Regions from separate parts of the Homo sapiens genome. Here regions 2 and 3 are each linked to region 1. Evidence: promoter capture Hi-C in 16 types of primary human blood cells and fetal thymus (Javierre and others, 2016). All regions are on one chromosome and are shown on one strand. The core of a region is centred on a gene start or on the middle of the fragment in contact, and the rest is flanking DNA. Distances in the headings are between cores, read along the strand shown. Region 1 overlaps GATA4 (GATA binding protein 4). Region 2 holds the start of SLC35G5 (solute carrier family 35 member G5). Region 3 holds the start of TDH-AS1 (TDH antisense RNA 1).

The links. Contacts are between HindIII fragments. The CHiCAGO score rates a contact against its expected background, and 5 or more counts as called.
Region 2: the fragment with the promoter of SLC35G5 here is called in contact with a fragment that was not itself captured in region 1 in 2 of 17 cell types (total B cells and naive B cells); the score reaches 6.9 in total B cells.
Region 3: the fragment with the promoter of TDH-AS1 here is called in contact with a fragment that was not itself captured in region 1 in 3 of 17 cell types (naive B cells, total B cells and M0 macrophages); the score reaches 6.6 in naive B cells.

Annotation. Positions count from the first base shown.
Region 1 is chr8:11,714,754-11,719,746 of GRCh38, forward strand. All of the region lies in intron 2 of GATA4 (GATA binding protein 4), which reads left to right. Among named protein-coding and RNA genes, the nearest start is that of SNORA99, 12 kb to the left of the region's middle. RefSeq lists an enhancer at 4,035-4,179 and a cis regulatory region at 4,101-4,114. The HindIII fragment of the contact is 2,161 bases long and covers 1,695-3,855 here.
Region 2 is chr8:11,328,307-11,333,299 of GRCh38, forward strand. It overlaps SLC35G5 (solute carrier family 35 member G5), which reads left to right and starts at 2,706. Exons shown (of 1, transcript NM_054028.2): 1 at 2,706-4,054. The coding sequence starts at 2,801. The coding sequence ends at 3,817. It also overlaps a transcript of MTMR9 not described here. The HindIII fragment of the contact is 5,485 bases long and covers 1-4,993 here.
Region 3 is chr8:11,345,451-11,350,443 of GRCh38, forward strand. It overlaps TDH-AS1 (TDH antisense RNA 1), which reads right to left and starts at 2,066. Exons shown (of 2, transcript NR_147705.1): 1 at 1,847-2,066; 2 at 298-1,190. It also overlaps the pseudogene TDH. RefSeq lists an enhancer at 1,756-2,379 and a silencer at 1,934-2,213. The HindIII fragment of the contact is 5,915 bases long and covers 99-4,993 here.

The sequences.
Region 1 (4,993 bases), core at 1,525-4,024:
TAACGCTTTATTCTGTATCCCTCCCCATTTCTTTTCTAACTTAAATGCACTAAGAAAACAAACACACTGAGGTGTGGGGAAACAGGAACTCTGATACCTGTGGGTGGGAGTGTAAATCGCTCTGACCTTTATGGAGAGTCTTAGGTGTAGTAGCCATAAAATTGCAAAGTAGACAGCCTGGACTCCGGAATTTTCACTTCTAGGGATTTGTTCCACAAGCACACCGGCACATATTAATTTCAGCATTGCTCGTAATAACAAAATTGGAAATAATCTAAATGTGCATCCTTAGGGGAATGTTTTTATGCACGTGGCACATACAAACCATAAGCTATGTAGGCAAGAAATAATGAAGTTCATTATCTAATGTATGGAATCCTCACAAAGACATTTATAAATGCAGGAAGTGTATATAGCACTTTACTGTTTGTGTTAAAAAAAAGAAAGAAAAAGATTATATTCACTTGAAAATACAAAATCTCACAAAAAATTTGTAACACAGATTTGCCTGTGGGGAGGAAAGCGGGTAGGTGAGGGATAATGGTAGAAAAGGGACTTTCACTATGCATGCCTTGGAACTTTTTGAATTTTTTAACCACCTTAATCATTTTTATACTCATTTCTGTGCCTTATTAATCCATTTAATAACAAGAAAATACATTTAACATACAGGGAAGTTAAAGTTAAGTTTAATGTAAAAATTTCAAATCATCGGCTGGGTGCAGTGGCTCACACCTGTAATCCTAGCACTTTGGGAGGCTGAGGCGGGCGGATCGTGAGATCAGGAGACCAGCCTGGCCAATGTGGTGAAACCCTGTCTCTACTAAAAATACAAAAATTAGCTGGGCATGGTGGCACGTGCCTGTAATCCCAGCTATTCAGGAGGCTGAGGCAGGAGAATTGCTTGAACCCGGGAGTTGGAGGTTGCAGTGAGCCGAGATCACACCACTGCATTCCAGCCTGGGCGACAGAGCAAGACTCCATCTCAGAAAAAAAAAACAACTCAAATCATCTTAGCCACTTTTAAGTATACAGTTCAGTAGTGTTAAATACCTTTGCATTGCTGTGTATCAGATCTTTAGAACTTAAACTCTGCCCATTAAAATACCACTCCCATTCCTCTCCACACCAGCCCCTGGTAACCCCCATTCTATTTTCTTTTTCTTATGAATTTGACCACTCTAGGGACCTCACACAAGTAGAATCGTACAGTGTTTGTCGTTTTGTTTCTGGCTAATTTCATTTAACATAATGTCTTCATGATTCATCCATGTTGTAGCATGTGCCAGAATTTCCTTCCTTTTTAAAGCTGAATAATGTTCCATTGTATGTGTAGACCACGTTTTGTTTATCCATTCATCCATGGATGGACACCTGAGTTGCTTCTCCGTCTTGGCTACTGTGAATAATGCTGCTATGAACATGGGTATGCAAATGAAACCTTTTGAATTTGGAGAATGTGACTATATTACCTAATTTTAAAAACATATTAAACTAATTAAGTTTTAAAAAACAGATACATGATATTCATGAATCAACCTGAAAGTAGCATCTTTTTCTTTTTTTTTTAAAGAAGATTCTCTATTTAGTGTTTATGGATGCACAGGAAAACTGCTTTAAGGCATAAGTTGTTTTTTATTAAATTTGTCTTTTACCTATTCTTTTACAATTTTGGGGGTTTTCCTTTATGCTCAAGCTTCCTCAAGATTCTTCAAGGCAGATCAAAACCATCCTCAGTGGCAATCCTGTATTTGGCTTTTGATTTTGCTTATTTCACAGGAGGTTGCTTTACTGAGAGGGGGAAATCTCTACTCCTGGTCTCAGTGCTGGTAGTGGATCTAAATCAGCAATGGGCGGACACCCCAGCCCCACACTACTGTGGCTTCCCCACTTGTGGGCACAAACAGTCACGTACTAGGCAATGGTGACCTCTCCAGGTAGGCAGTTTTCCCTCAGGTTATATTGGAGTTAGAACCTGCCTGAAAACCACTAACCGGCTGCAGCGGTGGGATTGTGTGAAGAACAAGTTACCTTCCTCCAGGGCAAGGTGATTCTTTTAAACAAATTTTAAGACAATTTAGTTGTACTGAATTTAGAGCTGAAGCCAGTTGCAAATGTAGCTGCTTGTGTCTGCATAAGAAAGAGGAAGTATGCTAGTTTTCCTTTCCTTGTTCCAGAAGAGGGCAGTTCTTGCCAACGCGAGCTGCTGCTTTAAGAACTTGAAGCAACTTTTCTGACATCTGAAACTATTTGTCTTTTGGGAACTTATTTGTCCTAGCCTGCCTGCAGAACCAGCTGTTAAGGCTCTGTTGGGAAGGAGTATCGCTCTGCTATATTGACCTCTGGTAGACCATGACATGGCCCCATATGCCATACAACATAAACTGGTTACTAAGAGTAATTTAATGGCTATCTCTAGAGCTACTCTTTTGTTACCTTCTAAAGAAGGCAGGGAAGAAAATATAAATGGGGTTATAATAGGAATAATCTTGAATCTGTTTTAATTTATACAAAATACATTTATAAGTTTTGGCACATTCACGTTTGGATACTGGCTAACAACTTTTTAGCGAGAGTAGCCTGTATCTTGCATGTCATTCCATTGAACAGTAAGGTGGATCCCTGTCAATGAAGAAATCATCTGATGCCAGGGACTTTGAAGTCTTTCTCCAAGAGGTAGATACGATGATCTCTGTTTTGCTGGAAAGAAAGCTGATACCCAGAAAGAGCCTGTAATCTCAGGTCCCCGTGGGTAGTAAACAGCCCTGGTTTGGAACCCAGGTAAGTCCAACCTGCAGGATTGTACTTTCCCCCTTTCCCCACACTTTGTATTTGCCAAATCTGATATGAGGGCACTTGGCTCTTCAGAACCAGAAGCTATGTGTGATTGAAGGGCTCTATTAAACCTTAGGATTTTCCATGACTTGTCGCTCCCATCCGCTTCCTCTCCCCAGGGTAGCTTCTTGTCTGAGTTTCCGTTTGCTTCCCACCAATCACTGTCTCTCTAGGAGCAATGTCGTCCTACGGAATCTTCCGTATCATTCCTCAACTGTAAGCTCTGCAGTTCAGGAATGCAATGTTAGGAATCCCAGTGTTGCACAAACTTCCTTTCTAGCCGTTGGATTCTGGTGTGCAGAGAACTAAAGAGACTTCCCAGGATTCAGACCCTTCCAATGGGAGGATTCTCCTAACTCTAGGGGAACTGTTGGCTGCTTAAGAGCAAAACCATATGGCTCACTCAAAAATCCCTTTCCTAAGAGAAATCTATAACTGACCCTCTGTGTTCCCTTTTCTCTGAAGATTTCAAATATATTTGTGGTAAAAGCAGAGAAAGAAGAGGAGAAAATCATAATAAAAGCACAATAATGATGATTTTAGTAAAGATAAGAATGGGGCATGGATCAAGACAATGACTAAAACCCCAGGCAGGAAAAGCCCCGTGGAATTGGTCTGAACTGAATGTAGCAGCCCATCAGTGGAAGTTTTCTTGTTTCTGGCAGGTGGCCTATGCTTTTATCTATTACTGCTCTGTAATCAGAATTGAGCCACGATATTCAAGTTTCTTATCTGAATGATGGGAATTTGGTTTTCTGGCCTTCTGCATTTTGCAGGAGCCCAAGAATTGACCTGATGTTTTAAAATATATTTTCCCTCCAAAGGAGGAGTAAAATCCAGACAGGTGGGCCATTCTGTGTGTTTAAAGTCATTGAAAAGCCTCTGCAAGTAAAATTTGAGGCTGTCTGTAACCCACATTGAATAGTTACAGATATATTTTATTTTGGAGGATAAAAAATCAAGAAGTTACTACCACAATTTGGTGGGAATTTTGAATTTTGGAGTTTTCCTTTGTACTCAAGCTTCCTCACGATTCTTCCAGGCAGATCAAAGCCATGGGTTTTGGGATCCCCTAATCGCAAATCCAGTTTTGCTTCTTAAAATCTAATCAGTCCTTAAGTTATTTTTTAAATCTTCCTTTCTACTCCCCAGTTGAAATCTCCATTTCTACTTCTAGAAATCCAGTCAAACCTTATCGCCTCCATTTAGAACTGATCGATAGCAACTGGTGAGCAGGTTAATTATAATCGCAGAATAAACGCTGAAGTCTCAAAGTTCACCACTTTTGCAATGTTTCCAAACCCCTCGGGACCATGCCAGGAGGCGCTCATTGACCCATTCCGAGCAGGTGTGGGAGTTTGAACCAGGGGCAGACAATCAGATCTGATTCAAACAACTCAATTTGGTTGCTTATCTAGAGGTTTTCCTATCTTATGATATCTGTCATTTTAGATAAAAAAGAGTTCATCAATTGAGCTGGGAAATGGCAAAGTTACATTTTATTCTGATAAAAGTTTGCTAGTTGTTGTTTTATCAGCTTGGGTTGAAATTGTGTCTCCGTCAAGGTCTGCAATGACCTTTTCAGATATTTTATCAGGTATTAGGTGGGGGAGTCCTTTTTTTTTTTTTCCTTCTTTGACCTAGAAAAGAATGACCTGACTTCCAAGATCATAAATCAAACCAGGTAAAGACAGGCAATAATACAGGTTGCCCCTCAAAATTGAGTAGGCGGGGAAAACAAACAACAAATAAAACCTTTCCCTAGCATTTGGGGAGAACTTAACTTGACCCGAAATAAAGAATGTAGTTCCCACGGAGTGCACAGATGTAGGAAAATACTGCTTATTTTAAAAAAGAAAATGCTTTCCAGGCAAAAATGGCTTCAGAGAAACACGTAGTAATTTTTTTTCAAGTAGTATAAGGGAAACTTCTTTATTTTATGAAACTCAATGTATATTTATTATAGAAAAATGGAAAACTCACATAAACCAATGTAAAAATAATTGGTAATCTTACCATCCAAAGATAACCACTGTTAGGCATTAATCCTTGACTTCCAGTTATCCTACATACACAGGTATGTGTATAACTACATTATTAAGTAGTCGTGCAAGTTACTGTTTAAAGTCATTTCAGCACTGATGGCAATTTCTGTAAA
Region 2 (4,993 bases), core at 1,456-3,955, 390 kb before region 1:
ATGATTGGTAAAATTTTCCATATTTGCTTTAATACCACGTGTGTGTGTGTGTGTGTGTGTGTGTGTTTGTTACACTGTTATTTTGCTGAAACATCCGAGTTAGCTGCAGACATTGTGACCCTGTCTTCTAAATACTTCACAGGAATCTCCCAAGAATTAGGAATATGTATTCTACATATTATTGATTTAGTATGTATTAATATAAACACATGACTCATTGAGGGTAAAAGGAAAGCTCTTTCTTAGAGTAGAATGCCAGCTATTAAATGTAGAAAGAAAATGGAATTAAAAAGCCACTATTTGGCATATTATTACAGTAATCATTGACTTAGGCAATGCCTAACAGTGAATGGCAAAACTAGCAGGTGAAAATTTGTGAAGAACAGAATATAATCTCCAAATAGCCTTCCACAAAATAGTTACTAGTTACAAAGGAGAAAATACTAACTTTATAGTGAAAGGAACTGGTAGATATCACCTTATTTCAGGAAAAGTTAACATCATTAGTAATGGGACATATCAACATCATGTGCCTTCTGATATGATCCATCCAGAAACAGCACCACTGTTGGAGGGAAAAAGCAGTCTTAGGAGTTTTATAGTTTAAAATCTTACATTTAGATCTTAATCCATTCTGTATTAATTTTTGTATACCGTGTAAGGTAAGGGCCCAATTTCATTATTTGCATATGGATATTCAGTTTTTCCCAACACTTTGTTGAAGAGACTGTCCTTTTCCCATTGTGTGGTCTTGGTATCTTTGTTGAAGATTATTTGACCATATGCATATTCATTTCTGTGCACTCTATTGTGTTCCATTGGTGTATATGTCTGTGTTAATCACTGGAAGGCTGAGGCAGGAGGATCACATAGGGCCAGGAGTTCGAGACCAGCATGGGAAACATAACAAGATCCTGTCTTTACAAAAAATAAAAAAATTAGCCAGGCATGATGGTGCTCATCTGCAGTCCTTGCTACTCAGAAGCTGGAGTGGGAAGATCACTTGAGCCCAGGAGTTCCCTCTCCCTCTCTTTCCATGGTCTCCCTCTGATGCCGAGCCAAAGCTGGACTGTACTGCTGCCATCTCGGCTCACTGCAACCTCCCTGCCTGATTCTCCTGCCTCAGCCTGCCGAGTGCCTGCCATTGCAGGCTCGCGCCGCCACGCCTGACTGGTTTTCGTATTTTTTTGGTGGAGACAGGGTTTCGCTGTGTTGGCCGGGCTGGTATCCAGCTCCTAACCGCGAGTGATCCGCCAGCCTCGGCCTCCTGAGGTGCCGGGATTGTAGACGGAGTCTGGTTCACTCAGTGCTCAATGTTGCCCAGGCTGGAGTGCAGTGGCGTGATCTCGGCTCGCTACAACCTCCACCTCCCAGCCGCCTGCCTTGGCCTCCCAAAGTGCTGAGATTGCAGCCTCTGCCCGGCCGCCACCCCGTCTGGGAAGGGAGGAGCGTCTCCGCCTGGCCACCCATCGTCTGGGATGTGAGGAGCCCCTCTGCCCGGCTGCCCAGTCTGGGAAGTGAGGAGCGCCTCTTCCTGGCCGCCATCCCGTCTAGGAAGTGAGGAGCGTCTCTGCCCAGCTGCCCATCATCTGAGATGTGGGGAGCGCCTCTGCCCGGCTGCGACCCCGTCTGGGAGGTGAGAAGCGTCTCTGCCCGGCCGCCCTGTCTGAGAAGTGAGGAGCCCCTCCGCCTGGCAGCTGCCCCGTCTGGGAAGTGAGGAGCACCCCGCCCGGCAGCCGCCCCGTCTGGGAAGTGAGGAGCGTCTCCGCCTGGCAGCCGCCCCATCCGGGAGGGAGGTGGGAGGTCAGCCCCCGCCCGGCCAGCAGCCCCGTCCGGGAGGGAGGTCGGGGATCAGCCCCCGCCCGGCCAGCCGCCCCGTCCGGGAGGGAGGTGGGGGGTCAGCCGCGGCCTGGCCAGCCGCCCCGTCCGGGAGGGAGGTGGAGGGTCAGCCCCCCACCGGCCAGCCGCCCTGTCCGGGAGGGAGGTGGGGGGTCAGCCCCCACCCGGCCAGCTGCCCCGTCTGGGAGGGAGGTGGGGGGCGCCTCTGCCCGGCTGCCCCTTCTGGGAAGTGAGGAGCCCCTCTGCCCGGCCACCACCCCGTCTGGGAGGTGTACCCAACAGCTCATTGAGAACGGGCCATGATGACGATGGCGGTTTTGTGGAATAGAAAAGGGGGAAAGGTGGGGAAAAGATAGAGAAATCAGATTGTTGCTGTGTCTGTGTAGAAAGAAGTAGACATGGGAGACTTCATTTTGTTCTGTACTGGGAGGGGTTCTTCTGCCTTGGGATACTGTTGATCTGTGACCTTGACCCCAGCCCTGTGCTCTCTGGGGCATGTGCTGTGTCCACTCAGGGTTAAATGGATTAAGGGCGGTGCAAGATGTGCTTTGTTAAACAGATACTTGAAGACAGCATGCTCGTTAAGAGTCATCACCACTCCCTAATCTCAAGTACCCAGGGACACAAACACTGCGGAAGGCCGCAGGGTCCTCTGCCTAGGAAAACCAGAGACCTTTGTTCACTTGTTTATCTGCTGACCTTCCCTCCACTATTGTCCTATGACCCTGCCAAATCCCCCTCTGCGAGAAACACCCAAGAATGATCAATTAAAAAAAAAAAAAAGAAAGAAAGAAAGAAAGAAAAGAAGCAGAGTTGGACTCAGCGGGAAAATAGGCGTGCTACCACCTCAGGAGAGTTCCAGGGAAGAACCCCACCCGCACTCCAATGAGGTCACAATGGCTGGAGCTCTGAGGGGCCCAGGCTCCCTGAGCCAGGAGGAGAGGAGAAAGTCCAAGGAAAGATGGCTGGCAGTCACCCCTACTTCAACCTGCCTGACTCCACACACCCATCGCCGCCCTCCGCTCCACCCAGCCTCCGCTGGCACCAGCGCTGCCAGCCCTCTGGTGCCACCAATGGCCTGCTGGTGGCCCTGCTGGGTGGGGGCCTGCCTGCTGGCTTCGTGGGCCCCCTTTCTCGTATGGCTTACCAGGGTTCCAACCTGCCCTCGCTGGAGCTGCTCATCTGTCGATGCCTCTTCCACCTCCCTATTGCCCTGCTACTTAAACTGCGTGGCGACCCCCTTCTGGGACCTCCTGACATCCGAGGCTGGGCCTGCTTCTGTGCCCTGCTCAACGTCCTCAGCATTGGATGTGCCTACAGTGCAGTTCAGGTGGTGCCCGCTGGCAACGCTGCCACTGTTCGCAAAGGTTCTTCCACCGTATGCTCCGCTGTCCTCACCCTCTGCCTTGAGAGCCAGGGTCTCGGTGGCTACGAGTGGTGTGGACTGTTGGGCAGCATCCTAGGACTAATCATCATTCTGGGACCTGGACTCTGGACACTACAGGAGGGGACCACAGGTGTCTACACCACCCTGGGCTATGTGCAGGCTTTCCTGGGAGGCCTGGCGCTGTCCCTGGGGCTTCTGGTCTATCGTTCTCTGCACTTTCCCTCCTGCCTCCCAACAGTGGCCTTCCTATCTGGCTTGGTGGGGCTGCTGGGCTGTGTGCCAGGCCTCTTTGTGCTGCAGACCCCCGTGTTGCCCAGTGACCTCCTGAGTTGGAGTTGTGTGGGGGCAGAGGGGATCCTCGCCTTGGTCTCCTTCACATGTGTGGGCTATGCGGTCACCAAGGCCCACCCTGCCCTGGTGTGCGCTGTCCTGCATTCCGAGGTGGTTGTGGCCCTTATACTGCAGTATTATATGCTCCATGAGACTGTGGCACTTTCTGACATCATGGGGGCAGGGGTTGTGCTGGGCAGCATTGCCATCATTACAGCCCGGAACCTCAGCTGTGAGAGGACAGGGAAGGTGGAGGAGTGAGATAGAACTTGGGAGCCCGGGGGTTGGGAGGGACAGGGATAAATAAAGACAAAGACTGAAGACAAAAAAAAAATAAAAGAAAAAAAATAATTATAATAAATCCTAGGAAAGAGTGAAAGTCTAACTTCCATAGCACATTATAATATTGAGATGTTCAGTTATAATAAAAATATCACAAAGCATGCAAACAAATGAGAAATCTGGCTTATTTACAGGAATAAAATTAATTGAACTATCCTTAAGGAATCCCAGACTTTGGACTTACTAGACAAAGACTAAACAATTGTCTTAAATATGCACAAGAGTTAAAAGACAACTAAATGAAATCAGAGAAATGATGTTTGAACAAAATGAGAATATCAATAAAAATATAAAAATTATAGAAAGGAACCAGGTAGAAATTTTGTAGCTGAAACGTGCGACAACTGAGATGAGAAATTCACTAGAAGGGTTCGATAGAGTTTGTTTGTTTTTTGTTTTTTGCTTTTTTTTTTCTGAGACAGAATCTTGCTCTGTCACACAGGCTGGAGTGCAGTGGCATGATCTCAGCTCACTGTAACATCCGCCTTCTGGGTTCAAGCAATTCTCCTACATCAGCCTCCCAAGTAGCTGAGATTACAGGTGCATGCCACCACACGCAGCTAATTTTTGTATTTTTAGTAGAGATGAGGTTTCACTATGTTGGCCAGGCTGGTCTCAAACTCCTGACCTTGTGATCCACCCGCCTTGGCCTCCCAAAATGCTGGGATTGCAGGCATTAGCCACCACGCCCAGCCTTCCGTAGAGTTTTTGATCAGGCAGAAGAAAGGATCAGCAAATTTGAAGATAGGATTATTGAAATTATCCACTCTGAGGAGCATAAAGAAAAAGAATAAAAATAGTGAATAGACTTCAAGACTTGTAGGATACCATCAAGTGGACCAACATATGGTTTATGAGAGTCCTAGAAAAAAGCAAAAAAGTGTTTTAAAAATGAGGGCTGAAAACATCCCAGATTTGATGAAAGACATAAGTGTACAAATCCAAGAAGCCTCTACAACAACCTCTAATACCATAAACTCAAAGAGATTCATACCAAGACACAGTATATGAAAACTATCAAAAATCACAAAGAATCTTGAAAGTAGCAAGAGAATCAACTCATCACATTACAAGGGATCCTAAATGAGATTATCA
Region 3 (4,993 bases), core at 816-3,315, 370 kb before region 1:
GCCATTCACTTCAGCCTCTTTGCATGGGGAAGAGAGGAAGTGGATGCTAGGTAGCCAGAAAGCACCCACTTTTCAGTCCCTGGAATCCCCAAGAACAAAGCTTGAAGCTATGGTCTGTGACCCCGCCCGACCGGCCGCCATTCCCCAATGCAGACCAGAGGCAGTGTCAGCGGATCGCTCTACTCCGCAACGCTCCCACCTGTAATCCTGATGCAGGGCAGGTGAGCCCCAAAGTGGAGCTTCCACCAGGAGGGTTCTTGGCTTTGCCCAGGAAAGAATTCAAGGGCAAGCCAGAGGTAGAAGAAAACAGCTTTATTGAAGAGGCAGGGTTACAGCTCCGTGACTGCTCCTGCAGAGCAGGGCTCCCCCATAGGCAGAGAGGAGCAGCTCAGGGCAGTTTTGCAGTTTTATATATATATATATATATATATATATATATATATATATATATATATATATATATACACACACACACACACATACACACACACACACACACACACACACTCACACACACACACTTTTAATTGCATACAGATTAAGGGGCGGTTTATGCAGAAATTTCTAGGGAAGGGGTGGTAATTATTGGGTTACTGCCACGGAAAGGGGCGGTAACTCCCTGGTATTGACATGGCAACGGTAAACTGACGTGGCACCCTGGTGGTCCTATCTGTTGGAAAGCTGCTTTGGCCCTGACCTTGCTTTAGTTTGTCCTCAATCTGGTCTGGTGTCTGAGCCCCGCCTCCTACCTCAATCCCACTCAAGGTGAGCTTGATATCCTCTTCCATCCACCACCAAGTTTGTGGAGAACGGAAAATAGCTCCTCATGATATGATAAGGAGTATTACAAAGGGCAGCGAGGCAGGGACAGGTTGCCTGGGTCAGCATTCTGGTCCCCCGTGGCCTTGATCCCATCTCGTCACGTCTCTGGGGGTATCGTGGTCTCGGTAATCTCAAGTCTCTTGAGATGCCAAAAGTCTGAAACCCCTACCTCCGTGGGCAGTTCGGTAGACCGCAGAACCGTAGTCATTTTAGACTGCATTAATAACACTTCAGGCGGGGAGACTACGCTGAGCAGAATGCACGGTGATCATGACCTAGTCGACATATTTCAAGGGCGCCAGAGGCAGAGCCATCTTCAGGGATCAAGTCAAGGGAGAAGCTGAAGAAAACGGGGCCTGGCTAGCCCGCTAAACAAAACGAGACAGATTTCACAAAATCACAGATTGTTAATGTCAGAAGACACCTTAGAGTTGTTTCTCCCAAACCGAAGGCGCCTGCAAGTCACTTGGGGATCCTGTTAAAATGCAGATTCCCTGGTTCGGTAGGTCTGGAGTGGGGGCTGCTTTGTCCAGAGACCACACCGTGGGTCCAACCTTCACAGCACACTGGAATCGCTTTAAGAGCTTAAAAAAATACTTAGGTCTGGGCTTCTCTATCCCCGTCCCCCCCAGCCCCGGAGATTCTGTCATTTGGTCCGGGGGCAGCCTGGGCGTTTGGAGGTTAAAAAGCTCCCAGGTGATTGCAATATGCAGCGGAGTTTGAGAACCAGCGCCTTGGACCCAGCTTCTTAAGCTACTGCGCGCACCGGCGTCCCGCTGGGGGCGCGCGAGCCCCACCCCCAGAGATGCTGACTCAGCAAGTCGGGAGGGGTTGGGGGTGGGACCTGCCAATCTGCATTTCCAACCGGCGCCCAGGTGACGCTGACTCTGCTGGTCTACCGTCTTGGGGGTCACCTAATTTTTCAGCGATGCCTCCCAGCTGGGGAGGCCAAGAAGTGCCTCGCTCAAGGTCTTCCAACACCCGACCTCCAGACCCTCAATCCTGGGCCAGCTACACCGCAAACCTTTCCAGCTGTCTCTCCTGCGCCCTGCGTTTCTTCCCCACGTCACTTGCCAGGGAGCCGCTAAACAGCAAGACCGCGCGCTCTGCGGCTCCAGAGTGCGGATTTCGGTCGCGTGCGGCTCTGACCGCGTCGCCCCATCCCTGGCGGGGCCACGCACGGACGCCATGGCTGGCGCCGCGGAGCCGGGCGATGCGCGCGGACTCTCCCGGGGCCCTGACTGTCCCTGAGTCCTCCCTGCGGGGGGCGTGCGCGGCCCGCCCCCCGCGGCGCCACGCGGCCCCTCCTCGGCCGGGGATTGGTGCGCCGGGCGGGGCGGGGCGGGGCGGGATAAAGGCGCGGGGTCTGGCTGCGCGGGGTCTGCGGGCAGCTCCAACTCTGGGTTCGTAGTTTGCGCTGGGTGCGCAGGAAGGTCAGTGTGGGGGTCGCCCGACATTTCCCCCCCGCGGAGGTGGGAGCCGAGCCACATCTTGGAGTGGGGACTGGCCGCGGAGCGGGTTGCCCAGGGCCGGCCGAGGTCGGGGCGAGCCCTGCGCGGCGCTGGAGACTCTGCATTCCCGGGCGCGCGCAGGGTCCCCGGCCGTGGTCGCAGAGTCAGGAGGGGCGGCTCCGGAGCCCGGCGCGGGGAGGGCCCAGGCGCAGTCGGGGTTGGCAGGGCGCGACACTCGCTCCCCTCCACTTTTGAAAGGGCTTCCCACGCCGAGAAGAGGGGCGGGCATGGCCGGCCCGGCGAAACCGGTTTGTACAGACTTTGGGAAGCCATCGCCTGCGGAGGGTGGGACCCCACAGCTTGTCCACCTGCCCAGGCTGAGACCTCGTGTCCTAGTCCTGGATGCCCCACGGGTTTCTCGTCCCGGGCAGCGGCGCACGGGAGGAGAAGACTCCCGGTCTGCAGTCAGACCTCCCTCTGAGACCCTCCCTAGCTCAGGCTTAGAGCTTTGGGATTTTTCTCGATCCTTTCTAGCTTTCAGATCATCCCCACGTAAAGTTCAGACTTTACCAGCCCAGAGAGTTTAAAAAAAAAAAAAGAGAGAGAGAGAAAGCGAATGTGGATTGAGCCTTTACACTGACCGCGCAGTTTGCACAGTGCTTTTCATAGATTGACTGCTTTTATTAAACGCTCTCAACAGTCTATTAGGATGGCATGGTGATTGCCCCCTTTCTGAGGACGCGGAAACTTGAGATTTGGCGAGGCAAGAAGCCAGGCGCACACAGCTAGGCGGGCCGCGGGCCGCGACCCCCTGGCTGGTCCGTGCTCTCCCCCTGGGGAGGGGTGCAGGCTGCCAGGAAAGGTGCCCCCTGCGTGGCCCTGGGGGTGTTTCTTCCTCTTTGTCTCTTCTTAGGCATCTGATCTCATCTCTTAAGTGGGAAGAGTCGGGGTGGTGGAAGTAGAGGGTATGGGACACGGTGGACCTACCTCACTTGGTAGTTAGTAACTGCCTCACCTTGGGCGGGTCAGTGGATTCTGAACAATGGGGAAAAGGTCCCAGCTTCAGGGTTGCTGTGAGGGTTTAAGAAGAGTTCAGGAAAGCAGATGCTTCACCAACGCTCCGTAGTTACCAGGCGCCTGATTTTTCCTTGGATCATTACTATTAAGAGGATGCATTGGTGATGATGATGATGTAATGAGTCAGAGGTTTTAAAGCCCAGACTGCCTTGAAAATGCGTCTGGTAAACCTTCTTGCTCCTTAAAGCAGAATAAGATTGGAGTGGGGGAACGCAGTGAAAATGAAGGTGGGCATGGACATATAAGTATTAAGTTAGAAGTGGGGAGGGGGCAGGGGGCATTGGCGCCAGGAAGTTGTAAACTGGGCAATTATCACCCAGTCCAGAGCAGGGAAGGCCCGTTGTGAGGGGCTAGGCATGAAGGTACCAGCAGCGTACATGCTCCTGCAGACCCCTGAGGCTGGAAGGAAGGAGCGGGCAGTGGGAGAGTAATAGGTTTAAGCACGTTTGCAAGTGGAGGCGGAGAGAGGACAAGGGCTGGGGGGGTTGGAGTTTGCTGGGTCTCTGGGGGCAATATTGATCTATGTTAGGCGAGTTTTCTCACTCTTCAGATACATATATACATATATGCATGCAGGTCACTTCTTGGTGCTGAACACTGTAAAACTTTTTCTCTATTGTAGGTTGTAGTTGTGATTCCTATCACGTAACATTAGATTTACCATCCTAAACAGTTCTAAGCATACTGTTCAGTAGCGTTAAGTATATTCACGCTGTTGTGCAGTCAATCTCCAGCGCTTGTTCATCAAACTGAAACTCTGCGCTAATTAAACACTAATTTCTCTGCCTCTACCCCAGCCCTTGGCAGCCAGTCACCTTTCTGCTTTATGTTTCTGTGAATTTTTGAGTGCTTTAAATAATGCACGTCAGTGGAGGCATACAGTGTTTGTCCTTTGGTGACTGGTTTATTTCACTTAGCCTAATGACTTTGAGCTTCACTCATGTTGTAGCCAAGTGTCAGAATCACCTTCTTTTTTAAGGCTGAAAAACTTCCATTGTATTTGTAGACCCTATTTTCTTTACCCGTTCATCTATTGGAGGCTGGATATCTTAGTTTCCCGCTTAATTGTTAAAGACATTACTTAATACATCTTTTACTATCTCCATCCCTAAGAGTAATTACAGCCAGAAATGTTAGGAGATCTCATGACAGCAAGAACATTGAGGAAAACTGATGTTGCGTATCTAGTCGCCTTCGGTATTATGGGTGGAAGTTTCCTTAATATCTAAAAAATTATCTATTTTTAGAGCAATCATAGTTGAATTAAGTCCCCTCCCCACCCCCCACCGCCACACCCCAATAAACTGAAGTAACTTTTTTCCCCTGAGAACAGGATCATTTGATTTTTTGAGATGTAAACCTCTGATGGTTTCCCCTTACTGTCTGCCTCTTAGACACAGCGTTGAGTGAGTACGAACACGCTTCACAACTTCCCGGGAGAGGCACCTAAACCCAGCAGGTCCACAACCAAACTCACTTGTCTTCTCACCTGACCTGCTGCTTCTCTAGAAAGCCCATTCTTGCAGCGCCCAAATTAGAGACCTTCATATTCTTGACACCTTCACCACCCACCCATGTGGAAGCAATCACTCAAGCCAGCTGAGCCATGAGTCAGTATCTGTATCGCCCCCTCATTTCCAGAT